Linked DNA regions of Homo sapiens: regions 1, 3, 4 and 5 are each linked to region 2. The links are contacts of gene promoters, found by promoter capture Hi-C in blood cells and fetal thymus (Javierre and others, 2016). All regions are on one chromosome and are shown on one strand. The core of a region is centred on a gene start or on the middle of the fragment in contact, and the rest is flanking DNA. Distances in the headings are between cores, read along the strand shown. Region 1 holds the start of DMAP1 (DNA methyltransferase 1 associated protein 1). Region 2 holds the start of HECTD3 (HECT domain E3 ubiquitin protein ligase 3). Region 3 holds the start of GPBP1L1 (GC-rich promoter binding protein 1 like 1). Region 4 holds the start of IPP (intracisternal A particle-promoted polypeptide). Region 5 holds the start of CCDC17 (coiled-coil domain containing 17).

Region 1 (2,740 bases), core at 128-2,627, 800 kb before region 2:
GTATCTCGTTCACCCACTGCATGCCCAGAGTCTAGAATAGTGCCTGGCACATACATTCCTTTATGTACTGTGATCCCTGTCTTCACAGAAATGAGTCTATTAGAGATATATATTAAACAAGTAATTACACAATTAATTAACTACAACTAGGGTCAAGTGTTTCAGGCAGCCAATTGCTCTCTCCCTTTCTGGCTCCAAGGACCATTTCCTTACCCTGTGGACAATTTCTGCTGTAAGACTGTGACTTCCTCCGGCAACTGTTTGGAGCTCAGTGGATCCATCCAGGAATCAGACCCAGGAACAGGTTTGTACCTCCAGGCCTAGTTCTCCAAAGTTTTGGGGACTAGTCAGGCTTGTGGCTACAGCTGTTGTATCCCCTTGTCTTCTCCAGGCCAGAACAGGCTACACCACTTATAGCTAACTTGCGCAAACTGTCTGCTCCTCTAGTCCCTGCTGGTATCTTTGGCAGGTCTCGACTTGGGGTCTGGCCTTCTTAATGCCTTAACAAGCCCCACCCTATCCCACAGGCTATGTGTCCTTCAAATTGACAGGCTGGTTTGCAGACTGCTGAAGCTGGGAGCTGCTTTCCTTGTCCCTTGTGCCCTTCCTCAGGACCTCCTGTCTCTCTCTTTCCAGGAAGATCCCCAGGTTTATTCCCTTGAGGGATACTTCTAAGCTGGTTCCTGCTTGGGGCTGTGTTTTGGGCTTCTTCGTAGCCCAAAGAGTGCAGCTAGCTCCTGTACTAGTGAAGTGCCACGAAGCTGGCCTCCAGGAAATCCCCACGAGGCCACAACCCACAGCTATCTCCATCAGAGGAGGTGCAAATGAGGGCCCACACCTTACTCCATTTTGGCAGCCGCCCTAGGAAGCTCTGCCTTTATTTCTTCATCTTCAAGCTTATCACAATTTGAAGTTTATCTCTTCACCTCCAAGCTTAGCACAGTGCCTAGTACATATTAGCACTTAATGAAGAGGGGGCAATTCAAATCATTAACTCATTTAATAAAAAAATAGTAAATGTCCCACGCACCGTGCTAATGTTTTACAAGGATTCTTGGTATTTCATTTACACAGGTGCCATTACAATTTCCATTCGGCAAATAAAGAAAAAGGTCCAGAGAAATTAAGTGACTTCCCAAAGTCACAAAGTTCTGGTATCTCTTCACTGCCTGAGACGCAACGGAGCATCGTAGAGGGAAAATGCCAGAAAGCAGGCAGTGCACCAATGAAAACAGGCTCGCGGGAGAACCAAAGGGTGGCAAGCTCAGCACGGCCAGTAGCTTTCACCCTCGGTTGCCAGTCGGCTTCGTTTCCTACAACACCGACCGGAAGTGTTTCTGTCGGCCGCGTTCCGAATGAGCACCGCCGGAAGTTTCTGCCGCGGCTTTGCGGGGACGGGGGAGTGGTAGTGGGGGCTGCAGCTGCCGGACCCAGGTGCGGAAGTGCGAGGGCCCAGGTGGCTGAAGGGGCCGTTAGGAACATCCAAGCGGTGGGGCACAGGCAGATCCCCGACCTGACCTGGACCACCCTTCTCCTCTTGGCCCGCCCCTTCAACTCGCCTCCGCTTAGGTCTGGATTGGCCCCGCCCCCTGACCTGAGCCTGGTCCTTCTTCAGGCACTGACCCTTGACCTCCGGTGGCTCCCCCATCTCTCAGGCGCGATGGCTACGGGCGCGGATGTACGGGACATTCTAGAACTCGGGGGTCCAGAAGGGGATGCAGCCTCTGGGACCATCAGCAAGAAGGACATTATCAACCCGGACAAGGTAGCAGGGGCACCTGAAAGCGTTGACTAGGGGAGGGTAGGGGAGTGAAGATGGGGAGGAGTGACAACGGGCAAGGGATGGGTGCTACACTTACAGTGAGTTGGGCGATAAAAGGGGTGACATAACAGGACAGGGAATATGTGTCATCCTTGATGGGAGGGAGGAGATGGGACATCGTGGGAGATGGTGGGACCAAGAGGGTATGACACCTCTAAGAGCTGAGAGGACCAGGCAAGTGTGATTTTTGCAAGATATTGTTGGGGAGAGATCAAGACATTGTAACAGTCTGAGAGTTGGTGGGATGGGGAGGGGACTGCTCTGATTTGGGCGTAGGATGGTGTTCCTGGGAGTGGGTTTCTGTGCCTTTACAGTGTGTCAGTTTGCCTGTCATTGACCCTGTAGGTGCTGCTTTGTTCAGGGATTGAGCTGGACTAAAGAATTTTCAGGAAAGGGTCTAGGTTGTGGTTCCTTTCTGTGGTTTCCTTCCTCAGAAAAAATCCAAGAAGTCCTCTGAGACACTGACTTTCAAGAGGCCCGAGGGCATGCACCGGGAAGTCTATGCCTTGCTCTACTCTGACAAGAAGCAAGTATTGGAGTCCCAAGTCCCCCAGGTTTTGGCCCCTGATTCACCTGCCATGCCCCTAACTCCTAGTTTTCTCTAACAATTTTCTCCTCCCCAGCAAGGGCTCCTGCTTGCTTAGCAGGATGCAGGAGGACCTGAAGTCTTTTGCTCCAGGACATGACTTTCTTGCTATAGGGTAGGGTAGATCAGCTCCCTGGGACAAAAAGCTCTTTAACACACCTTCTGATTCTAACCTCGCATCTCCCTAAACCTCCCTGCCAGGGATGCACCCCCACTGCTACCCAGTGACACTGGCCAGGGATACCGTACAGTGAAGGCCAAGTTGGGCTCCAAGAAGGTGCGGCCTTGGAAGTGGATGCCATTCACCAACCCGGCCCGCAAGGACGGAGCAA
Region 2 (2,700 bases), core at 201-2,700:
GCCTGTGGGGACCCTGTTTTAGTCCTGGCCTGCAGGTGGGGGTTCTTTCTGGATCTAGCCTTGAGGGGTGTGACTATATCTTGCCTGGGGTGGGAGGAGCCCCAGCACCCACCGTGTAGGAGGAAACGTCTATGCTCTCCACATACTGCTTCACGCTACCCAGGTTCTCATCCTCCTTGCCCAGGTGGTCATACAAGAAGTGGATCAGGTCCTCGTCGCACTCGTAGGTCCATGTCGGGGGTACATAGCTAAGCAACCCCAAGCCCCTAATTAGACTGGGCCCAGACGCAGAGCTCCTTCCTCCCCACCCCATTCCAGCTCACTCACAGTAGCCTTTGTACAGCTTCTGCGTATGCCTCTGCCGGCTGAGGTCTCGATCCCAGGCGATGTGAGTATGTCAGGTCCACCACCTGTTCCCACCTGTGGGCACAGAGTAGGGAGTGGGATGGGGAGACATCAGCGGTCAGCAAGACACTACCTCCATGCCGTGTAGCCTTCTTCAGGGCTCTATCTCCCAGTCTCCCTCCGAGCCCCCTTCACGTCCCGCCCCTTTCTGCTCTTAACCCTGCCTCCGCTCCAGTATCCCACCCACCCCAGGCTGTGGCTGAAGTGTTCCCAAGCCCTCCTGGCCCGGCCTTCTGACAGCCAGCCCCGCTCCTTCAAGTGCAGTACCTGAGCACCGGCCGATAATCCACGCCAAAGAGCTGCTGCTGCCGCTGGAGGTGGTTGGGAGTGTCGATGGGTACCAGGCGGGCTCCGCCCTCCGCCGGGCGGCACACCAGCAGCCAGCCTTCCTGCAGCCCGCAGTCGCCCAGGTGCTCTGCCAGCTGCTCCTGCCGGGACGCGTAGGATGGGGACAGCCGTCAGGGAACTGCCCAGCCGCCTGTCGTGCCCAGCCCAGGGCAAAGGGCGCCGAACGCAATGCCAACTCAATACAGGGGAGAAAAGGCAAACAGCCAGAGGTTTCTCTGGCCCCAGGGGTCTTTTACCGGGTCCTGGGCAGGGAAGAGCGCACCTTTGTCAGCTTCACCCAGAGCCCGTGGCCATTGCACAGCTCCTCGCCCGTGGTGCGCACGCAGGCGCCGCGCCGGAGCTCAATGCTGTCGCGGGCGGCGCGGAGGGGCCCGGAGCCGGTACCGGGGGCTGGGCCTGCGGCGCCCACACGCAGCCCCAGGCCCTCTGCCTCCCACACCGGCAGAAGCACGCGCGACGGTCCCGCTGGGTCCTTGTAAAGCTTGTAGAGCACCTCTCGCGGCACGAAAGCCAGCGCTGCTGGCAGCGGCCGCCCGGCGCGGAGGCTCCGCGCTGCCTCTGCCAAGAAGCGCACGCGGCCCAGCAGCTGCCGGGGGGACTCCAGCACCGCGCCCGGGCCAGGACCCGCCATGGCGAAGTGGCGGAGGTGAGCACCTAGAGGCGACCCTGCCCGGGGAACAGCTGGCGCGACCGCGGACAGAGCTTCCCACCACGCCCTTCCCCGCCTTTGGCCAGCCTTTGCCGTATGTTCTGGACTAAGCGCACCCCAGCTCTCACTGTATTGGACTGTGTACTCCCACACTCAACCATATTACTTATCTCTGTGCCACCCTAACCCAGCCGACCAAACCCAAGATTGGTGATTGCTACCTGATCAATCTCCCTCTCTCCATTTCCTTGTGACTACCATTTTATCTCTACTGCTACTACCCTCATTCAAGTCACCATTCTAGCTAGCCTGGGTCATTGCCAACAGTCATTTTTCTGGTTCTTCGGCCTGCTGTTTTTCCTCCCACTCCCAGCGAATCTGCTGGACTCCCTATCCTATGGGTGGTGTGATTAAAGTGTTTGAGACAATGGCCCCTTCCCCTGCCACTGACAGGAGTCTTGAGTCATTAGGGTTGATTCTGTTTGTCACTCCTAATCCCAAGGACACTGGAGATCATTATTCATTTTAATGTGATTGCTGATTTCTGTTTCCCCAGTCTTGTAGCTCCTTAAAGGCTGGGGCTGTCTTGAGCAGAGCTAACCTCTGCACCTACTATAGGTCCAGGCTATAGTATGGACCTGGCTGGATAAGACTGTTGGTATCATGAGTGGGACTTGCGCCAAGCCTCCGGATACCCAGACTGTCAGATGAGAACAAATTCCTCATGTCACCGTAAGATACATTTACAGCGGAGTTTTCTTTTGGGCCTTTGTTGTTGCGTCGCTACAGCAAACTTTACGGTGAAAAAAGGTAGGGGTCCTACGGGCAGCAGCCAGGGCAGCCCTGGAGCTGTCGCTGGAGTCCGATCATGTGATCTTCAACATGGCGACGCTCTTGGTTCCCTACAGAAAGGGGCGGAGCCTGGACTGGGGGGCAGGCTCAGATTCAGGTTAAATTGTGGATTGAGCTCGCAGTTACAGACAGCTGACCATGGAAGCGAATGGGTTGGGGTGAGTTCTCCAGAGCACGCGGTGTGGCTAGCCGGGCTTCTAATTTGAGTCTTCCAACTCAGGACTCTATCCCTCTACTCCCCTTTCCCCACCCTGGAGACCTCCCAACCTGAACTCCGTTAGCTGGGATCCTGAATCCTAAAACCATGGATTTTTGAGATGTTCATCCCAGGGCCTTAATTCAAGGGATGCCTCAGGATTTCCAACCAGGATCTCTATTCTGGGACCATCAACTCTGATCCCTCTTTATCCCCCAGCCTGGGTATTTCTCAGCCCCTGAACCAGCCC
Region 3 (2,728 bases), core at 146-2,645, 680 kb after region 2:
GTATGTTTTCACTTGTTAAAATGTCTTACACTATTCTAGTAAATATCTCAAACTTAATAGCACCCTAATTTCCTTTCAAATATTGGATAAAAAAGACCTTAGAAAAGATCAGCAGTCTACTAAATTACAAATATAAGTCTAATGAGGAGTGACTACCAATCACTTTACTTTTGGATAAGATTTACACAAGAACACGACTTACTACTAAACTAAAACATGAACCACTATTATTAACTGTATTTTTCTGGTAAGCAATAAATGTCAATGTTAAAAATATTTCAACAAATATGACAAGCCAACTTCAGAGCACGAAGTTGGCAGATAAAATTGACACCACAGCACAATTTCAAAACTATAAGCAACTATTAAACACACACACCACCGCACCGCACCCATTCTTATGTAAACTTTTGGAATAGTCAACTTTGTGAGCCTCACCTTTGTTTTCACCCAGCATAAGGAGAGTTAAAGGTGAGACACCAACTGCAAAAAACCAAAATATCAAAAGATTCAGTTAATGTCCCCACAGGGGAAAGGACTAAAATCTTTAAACGTTAATGTATTTAAGTAATCGAAGGGCAGGGCACTTCCCCAAGCTACAGCCATTTTGGATTCAGACTGTCTTTCGAATTTCACGGGTTGGGGAGAACTAGATTTAAAACAACAGAAAAAAAATAACACTTAAAACATTTCAGGATCGACCAGCTTTCCCTGCCCCTCCAAGGAAAGGAGGTTGGTAGATATCGGATAGACTCAATCTAAGCGAAAACACCTCGCTACCACAGAGAACCGGAAAGCTGGGGGTTAAAACTTTTTTCCCCTCAGATATCCAACATTTGACTTACACTTTTTCCTCCTTAGGTTTTCCTTTGAAGGAAAACAAAAGCCCTTAGCTCTCATTTCAAGAAGGAAAGAAAAAAACCCGTAAGCCAAGTCACTCAACGAGCACCAAGCCGGATCGCCTGGAGAGGAGCCAAAGAGCCGCAGGTGAGCGTTCCGACCCGACGACCGAAGTTAAAGTAGGAGCGCTTTCGCGGAGCCCCGGCGACGCTCGCGTGCAAAGCTCCATGCACGGGGGAGGCGGGGGTGCCGCATCCGAACCACTTGACCCGTGGGCTCCGCTCGCCCCTCTCGGGTCGGACCTATACCCAACCACCTGTGTGAGAGCTTCTTTCAACTAGTTTTAACAGCCCGTTGGTTAGGCACCGGGCGGAGCCCCGCGCCAGAACGACTCCAGGATCTCCTACTGCCCCGTTTCCCAAACTCCCACTCACCGGGCAGCGGCGGAGCTATGGCCAGGGACTAGACGCTGCGTCTGAGGACGCGTCCCCAGCTTGTCGACCCGGCAGAGGCGGCTAGTCCACAACCATAACAAAGCTCTTCCCAAAATGGCTGCCCGGCCCACAAGGTCCAGGAGGGGCAGAGCGGGTGGAGGAGGAGGAGCGACCAGCAGCACGGCCCTCCCATCCCCCGTCCGACCCCGCCTTACACACGCCCACCTGAAGAAGCGCATGCGCAAGGGACTGCTCCGGCGACCCTCCCGGACGCCAGTTCCCTACGCTGCCAACGTTCGGCCTCCAGAACGGCGGTTATGCCCTGCCCCGCCCCCGGCTCCCTTCTTCGCCGCTTGAGGCGGCGCATGGTCACCTCTGCCCCCTACAGAATTGAATCCTCTGCCTTTCCTCGTGCCGCCTGAGGCACGGACAAGCCTAGTTTAGTACGCCCCTTCTAACCCCCTTGCCCACTTCCAGGGCCTGGGCGCGTATGAATGAGTGGGTGGGTATGCATGTGTGTATCCCTTTTTTCTTCACCCTCCCACAGCCCGCCCCTTGGCCAGTGCGCGTCCCGAAACTACCTCTACAAGGACTTGCAAACCGGTTTCGGAGGAACGTGTGTTTTCCGGCCCTTTCCCACCTTCCGCTCCTTACTTCTCGTGTGCGCGTCGTTGAGACTCCAGTCCCCAGCGGGCCACACGGCCTGGCCCCGGAGGCTGCGCGGCTGCGTCGGCCGCGCTACCCGCTGGGAGTAGTAGTTCCCCTGGAGCGCAGGCGTCACTCCCCCGCCCAAGCGAAGGGCGGGATTCCGGCGAGAGCCTGCGCTTGCGACAGTGCCGTTTCTCCTACCTGAAGTCTCATTGGGTATCGCACTACTGGAAGGGGCGGCGCTGCCATGACAGAGAAGGCAATAAAACTGAAGGCCTAGCTCGACTAAAAGCGCTTACTATTAAGGAAGACTTCGCTGTGGCTCCATCCGGCACGGAAAGCTAAACCGTGTAATGGCTGGCAACCAGGAAGCTAGACTACCTAGAATCCGGAGGATTGGAGGGACTGGCCGGCGTGGGCCCCTGAGATCTCCTACTACATGTCTTCAGTTTTATCCATAGACACGGAAGGGCACTAAAATTGCCTGGTGCCATTTCCTGTGAAACAAGTCTAGATAAGAGAAGGGACTTGCCCAAGGTCACATAGCCGAGAAATAAAGCCGAGGGCAGTAGGAGAAATGATCTGACTTTCCGAACCACCCCCAAGCCTAGGGCCCTTATCACCACACCTTTCATGGAAGTGAAAATCCTGCTCTTGTGCTCTTTAACCCTTAATGAAGTTTATAGGTCCCAGCAAAGAAAATGGATGTAAGAACTGGGCTTTTTTCCCCCTCTAAATGATAGTAAAGGGCCCTAATGCAGTGAGATGTGTCCCCATAGGCCTTATAAACCCTGTTTTGCAAAGTA
Region 4 (2,700 bases), core at 145-2,644, 740 kb after region 2:
TACCATGCTTCTCAGTAACTGCTGATACCATCCCACTGTCAGTGGAGTAGGAACGTCATCCCAAAAGGTGGCATGTGGAGTGACCATATTTCCAAAGGAAAAGAGCACAATTCTGTGACGTTGCATGCCTCACGTGCCCCAAACTTGAAAAGCAGATTGTTGACTGGGCAAGGTGGCTCACACCTATAACCCCAGCACTTTGGGATGTCCTGTCGGGAGGATCGCTTGATTTTTTGTTTTTTTTTTTTGTTTTGTTTTTGTTTTTTGTTTTTTTTTTTTTGAGACGGAGTCTCGCTCTGTCGCCCAGGCTGGAGTGCAGTGGCACGATCTCGGCTCACTGCAAGCTCCGCCTCCCGGGTTCACGCCATTCTCCTGCCTCAGCCTCCCGAGCAGCTGGGACTACAGGCGCCCGCCACCACGCCCGGCTAATTTTTTGCATTTTTAGTAGAGACGGGGTTTCACCGTGTTAGCCAGGATGGTCTCGATCTCCTGACCTCGTGATCCGCCCGCCTCGGCCTCCCAAAGTGCTGGGATTACAGGCGTGAGCCACCGCGCCCGGCCAGGGAGGATCGCTTGAGTCCTAGAGTTCAAGACCAGCCTGGGCAATACAGCGAGCCCCCCGCCGCAAAAAAAATTGTTTTAACATTAGCTGGCTGTGATGGGGCAAGCCTGTACTTCCGGCTACTTGGGAGGCTGAGGTGAGAGGATCGCTAGAGCCTGAGAAGTCGAGGCTGCAGTGAGTTGTGATCGCACCACTGCATTCCAGCCTAGGAGAAGGGGCGAGACTGTCTCAAAAAAAAAAGCAGATTATTAGGAAACGGTAGAAATGCCCAGAGGAACTAAAGCGGACCTATGTTTGCTGGCTTTGAATTCACTGCTGGGAACATGTGGAAACTGCTTCAGCAAAGGGGTGTCAGAAAGAATCCCCGGAACAAGTGTCAAAACACCCGTGGTTCTTTGTGCTTGAGTTGGGGGCCCGGCCTAGAGAGCTAGCCCTAAACTGCTGCTACACTAAAAGCTAATAATCGTTCCTGCGCTACCTAAAGGTCAGGGAAGGGATCTCAGACAAACGAGGCGACAACAGAGGGACTGGGGACACAGCCTCAGGATTCCCCAGTTGGGGCGGGGGAGGCAGGAGCGGTCCGGACGAGAAGGTCTGGGGAGGGCGACACTTAGACTGTCGGAGGAAGGCCTGCGGCGGCAGAAGGAAAGACAAGGAAATACACAGTTCTAGAGGCTTCTCTCACTCCAGTCCTCAGGGGTCCGGAAAGCCGGAGGGAGTAGAAGAGGAAGTTCCCAACCCCGTCACAGACGCGCCCGAACGCAGGCCCTCCTTACCCGCCGCTTCCCCTTCCCTCCGGCGCCCGCTCAGGCCCTGCGCGCGCAGTCGCGACCAGCCCCGGCCGGAGAGGGCGGGGGAAACCTGGCGGGGGTGACGAGGCGGGAGTGACTGGGCCGTACAGTTCCCCGAGAACTGGAGGCGAAGCCGGGCGGTGGGAAGGGACTTCGGACGCTTCGCGGGCCCTGGGTTTTCACTGCGCGTGCGCGAGGTTCTTCCGCTCGCGGGAGACTGGGCCGCTGGCGCCTCTCAGTGCCCACTGATGGGGCCCAGGGCTTGGGCTTGCTTCCCCAAGGATCAACAGCTTAGCTGCAAGCCTCTGCTTCTGCCTGCTGGGGCCGGCTGGCTCGCCCTTTCCATTCCGCTTGCACTCTGATTCTTGTGGTGTCCCAAGAAGGCCGCGGATCTCAGTTAAGCAGAGACGAGCCGAACACCTGGCACGGTCCTTCTCTACTGTTCTCTCGAATCGTTTTCTGAGTGCATGACTGAGCCTGGCACTGAAGGGATACTTATTTTGGGGAAGGAAGAACTCAAAAGTCCAGTTTTTTTCACTGTTGACCCTCATGTGTCACATTAGTGGCTTTCAAACTGTTTTGATCCCAGCCTACGGTGAACAAAAATATTTTACATCAAACTCAATACCACATACTTGTGAGTATATATATAGAAGTATATATCTAACATAAAATCTCATTTCTTTATTTTTATTTTTATTTTTTATTTTTTGAGACGGAATTTCGCTCTTGTTGCCCAGGCTAGAATGAATGCAATGGCCGGATCTCGGCTCACCGCAACCTCCGCCTCCTGGGTTCAAGCGATTCTCCTGCCTCAGCCTCTCAAGTAGCTGGGATTGCAGGCATGCGCCACCATGCCCGGCTAATTTTGTATTTTTAGTACAGACTGAGTTTCTCCATGTTGGTCAGGCTGGTCTCAAACTCCCCACCTCAGGTGATCCGCCCGACTCGGCCTCCCAAAGTGTATTTCTTTCTCTTTTTATGAGACAGGGCCTGGCTTTGTCGCCCAGGCTGGAGTGCAGTGGTGCCATCTCGGCTCACTGCAGCCTCGACTTCCTGGGCTCTGGTAGTCCTCCCACCTCAGCCTCCTGAGTAGCTGGGACTACAGGCCTGTGCCACCACCGCCAGGCTAATTTTTTGTATTTTTAGTAGAGACAAGATTTCGCCATGTTGACCAGGCTGGTCTCCAACTCCTGGGCTCGAGTGATCCGCCCGCCTCGGCCTCCCAAAGTGCTGGGAGGTGTGAGCCACTGTGCCTGGCCTGAAACAAAATCTTCACAAAACTATGTTTACACTTACGACCCGCAGTGCACTAAATTTTTATTTCTTCTTTTCTACTTCATTACC
Region 5 (2,776 bases), core at 148-2,647, 610 kb after region 2:
CCCGCAGCGCCCTAGGGAGTGGGGAACAGGAAGGCCGTCTTTCCAGAACTGCTCAGCGCTTCGCCCTATGCCCATCTCCGGCCCCGGCTCTCACCGGATTTCGGCAGCCAGAGTTCCCGGGTTGGCCTTTTGCACTGGAGAATAAAGTTCTGCCTCTCGCCGGGAGCTCAGCGGGTTCCTGGGGTGGCAGGCGACGCGCAGGGAGACGGTAACGCATCAGAGGCCCCGGGGCTGCAGCCAGCCCGCCCCTCCCACCCCGGAGCCGCATGTTCCGGGGATCCGCTTAGTCGGGTCTCACCCTGGCTCCGCCTGCAGCTCCTGAATGCGGGCCCCCAACACCTCTAGAGCTCCCCGCGTCCTCCCGGCCTCAGCTTGTAGTTCTCGAATCTCCTGCTCCAGGCCGAAGAGGCGGGACATCCCGCCCCGCGTACAGGCCACAACTTGGAGGCGTCGGCTCAGTTCTGAGGGAATGCGGGCCGAGTCAGAACCGGCCCGAGCAAGCTTAAGCCAAACGGCGAGGGCAGAGGAGGTCCTTGGTCCCCGTCCCCCATCTCCTTCACCCTCGCCGCGTAGCTGCAGGGCCCGGCTCTGCGCTTCCATCTCCGCCACGCGCCTCGCGCGAGTCCTGAACAGCGCCCGCAGCCGCTCGCTGGGGCTTCCCACCGCCTCGGACATGGGACTCTGAGGCCGCGCCTCGGAACGTGTCCAGGGCCCCGCGAACACCCTGGGGACCTCTGTTATCCAGGGCCGCATTTCCTGTAGGGATAGCCGCAGCCACTGCACCTGGAGGTAACAGCGATCCGCGATCTCTGCGTGGGCAGAATCTGTCCCAAGTATGATCTACAGGTTTGGGGAAGACGCTCAACGTTTTGAGCCCTGGGGGAAGGTAGGTAGCTCTACCTCCTCTGTTAACCTCTTTAGAGCAGATCTACTGGCCTGCTGGTCTGGGAGGCCCTGGGGTTCTTGTGGCACGCCCTGGTGTTCTTGTGGCACAACCTGGGGATAGGGTGTAGTAGGATGAGGAATCATAAAGGTCCTGGCTCCTTTGAATCCCCACCCATGGCCATGGAGGCCCTTACCGCGGCCCGCTGGGGTTCAGTGGCAACTGATGCCTGTGCTCCAAATGTCATCTCTTGGGTCGGGTGGCCAATGCAGAAGCGCTGAGTATGGGTGGCTAACAGAGCTGAGGAGCGGAAAACCATGTCACAGGTCCCACAGGGCAGGAGCGCAGGCTCCCCAGAGTGGGAGTCCATGGGATGGGACCCGTTTCCTGAAACCAGCCAAGACCTGCAGAAGGGATCAAGGGCAGGGGAAAGGCAGAGGAGGATGAAAGAGACATAAAGCCAGAGGCAGAGAGGAAAGGCCGTGTCTATTAGGTCTGTGAGATCTTCAAGTTTGTTTGGGGAGAGCCTTAGCTCCCTGGACAGCAACCACAGGGCTGGGCAGGTCAGGAGAATGGGTGGGGAAACCTCGGCCGTTTGGGAGGAGCCACTGGCTTGAAAAAGTGTTACAAAGTCTGAACGTGGGCAAGTCTCTAATTGTAGCTTGGTTTCCCTGACTATTAATAAAGAGGAAAAAGCAGCTGCCTCCTAGACTAGGCTGGGCCCTTATCACTTACTACATCATTGGTCATTTAATAGCCTCTAAAAGGCAAGTGTCATCTTTTTCATTGCTGTACTCCCAAGTGGATGTAACAGTTTGTACCATTCTCCAATCCAGAGAACTACCTGGCAAAGGAGGCACTCTGACCTTTCCAGCATTCTGCCTGGAAACCATGTCGCACCAGGGATAGCAGTCTCCCTAACTCCCATTCCCTGATTCCTCATTTTTCAGCTGTAGACGAAGATAATCAGCACAGCCCAAGAAATGAAAGCTGTGGGCGAACAGAATGAATCTATCAGATGAGGGAATCAAGTCCAGAAAAAAACCCCTTCTCTCTCCCAAGATTGGCCAGAAGCCAGAAAGACCCTGAACTGTTGGTGAAATTCTTCACTCCACTCCCACTCCCAAAATATATGGAGGAGCTCTGAGGTGACCGCATATTTCTTAAGAAACCCTCTTTACTTTTTTTTTTTTCTTTTTGAGATGGAGTCTCGCTGTCGCCCAGGCCGAAGTGCAGTGGCGCGATCTCAGCTCACTGCAATGAGCTCTGCCTCCTGGGTTCACGCCATTCTCCTGCCTCAGCCTCCCAAGTAGCTGAGACTACAGGTGCCCACCACCACGCTTGGCTCATTTTTTGTATTTTTTAGTAGAGACGGGGTTTCACCATGTTAGCCAGGATGGTCTTGATCTCCTGACCTCGTGATCTGCCCGCCTTGGCCTCCCAAAGTGCTGGGATTACAGGCGTAAGGCACTGCGCCCGGCCAAGAAACACCCTTTTCTCTTCTTTTTTTGAGACAGTCTCGCTCTGTTGCCCAGGCTACAGTGCAATGGCACGATCTCGGCTCACTGCAAGCTCTGCCTCCCAGGTTGACACCATTCTCCTGCCTCAGCCTCCCCAGTAGCTGGGACTACAGGCACCTGCCACCACACCCGGCTTTTTTTTTTTTTTTTTTTTAGACGGAGTCTCGCTCTTTCGCCCAGGCCGAAGTGCAGTGGCACTATCTGGGCTCACTGCAAGCTCCGCCTTCCGGGTTCAAGCCATTCTCCTGCCTCAGCCTCCCGAGTAGCTGAGACTACAGGTGCCCACCACTGTGCCCGGCTAATTTTTTTTGTATTTTTAGTAGAGATGGGGTTTCACCGTGTCAGCCAGGATGGTCTTGATCTCCTGACCTTG

Evidence for each region. The method cuts DNA at HindIII sites, captures the fragments that hold promoters and counts their contacts. A CHiCAGO score of 5 or more calls a contact.
Region 1: a contact is called between the fragment with the promoter of DMAP1 here and the fragment with the promoter of HECTD3 in region 2, in 5 of 17 cell types (neutrophils, activated CD4 T cells, total B cells and 2 more). The highest score is 9.4, in neutrophils.
Region 3: the fragment with the promoter of GPBP1L1 here is called in contact with the fragment with the promoter of HECTD3 in region 2 in 9 of 17 cell types (neutrophils, total CD4 T cells, activated CD4 T cells and 6 more); the score reaches 20.0 in neutrophils.
Region 4: a contact is called between the fragment with the promoter of IPP here and the fragment with the promoter of HECTD3 in region 2, in 2 of 17 cell types (neutrophils and total B cells). The highest score is 7.2, in neutrophils.
Region 5: a contact is called between the fragment with the promoter of CCDC17 here and the fragment with the promoter of HECTD3 in region 2, in 4 of 17 cell types (total CD4 T cells, neutrophils, total CD8 T cells and 1 more). The highest score is 9.6, in total CD4 T cells.

What each region holds. Positions count from the first base shown.
Region 1 is chr1:44,212,094-44,214,833 of GRCh38, forward strand. DMAP1 (DNA methyltransferase 1 associated protein 1) reads left to right here and starts at 1,378. Exons shown (of 10, transcript NM_019100.5): 1 at 1,378-1,765; 2 at 2,257-2,348; 3 at 2,610-2,740. The coding sequence starts at 1,661. RefSeq lists a silencer at 687-786 and enhancers at 1,184-1,478, 1,217-1,456, 2,222-2,723, 2,724-2,740. The HindIII fragment of the contact is 5,612 bases long and covers 932-2,740 here.
Region 2 is chr1:45,009,874-45,012,573 of GRCh38, forward strand. HECTD3 (HECT domain E3 ubiquitin protein ligase 3) reads right to left here and starts at 1,451. Exons shown (of 21, transcript NM_024602.6): 1 at 1,016-1,451; 2 at 673-833; 3 at 328-420; 4 at 113-248. The coding sequence starts at 1,384. UROD (uroporphyrinogen decarboxylase) reads left to right here and starts at 2,381. Exons shown (of 10, transcript NM_000374.5): 1 at 2,381-2,412. The coding sequence starts at 2,393. RefSeq lists silencers at 1,118-1,287, 1,368-1,497 and enhancers at 2,258-2,307, 2,348-2,477. The HindIII fragment of the contact is 5,887 bases long and covers 1,233-2,700 here.
Region 3 is chr1:45,685,138-45,687,865 of GRCh38, forward strand. It overlaps GPBP1L1 (GC-rich promoter binding protein 1 like 1), which reads right to left and starts at 1,396. Exons shown (of 13, transcript NM_021639.5): 1 at 1,275-1,396; 2 at 439-483. RefSeq lists enhancers at 1,012-1,610, 1,237-1,386, 1,447-1,496, 1,567-1,686, 1,707-2,036. The HindIII fragment of the contact is 19,533 bases long and covers 1-2,728 here.
Region 4 is chr1:45,749,259-45,751,958 of GRCh38, forward strand. IPP (intracisternal A particle-promoted polypeptide) reads right to left here and starts at 1,395. Exons shown (of 9, transcript NM_005897.3): 1 at 1,339-1,395. It overlaps LOC105378693 (a long non-coding RNA gene), which reads left to right and starts at 1,691. Exons shown (of 3, transcript XR_947290.2): 1 at 1,691-1,990. RefSeq lists a silencer at 1,236-1,505. The HindIII fragment of the contact is 27,355 bases long and covers 1-2,700 here.
Region 5 is chr1:45,622,657-45,625,432 of GRCh38, forward strand. CCDC17 (coiled-coil domain containing 17) reads right to left here and starts at 1,398. Exons shown (of 13, transcript NM_001114938.3): 1 at 1,080-1,398; 2 at 901-996; 3 at 561-783; 4 at 299-461; 5 at 95-178; 6 at 1-11. The coding sequence starts at 1,253. The HindIII fragment of the contact is 6,664 bases long and covers 500-2,776 here.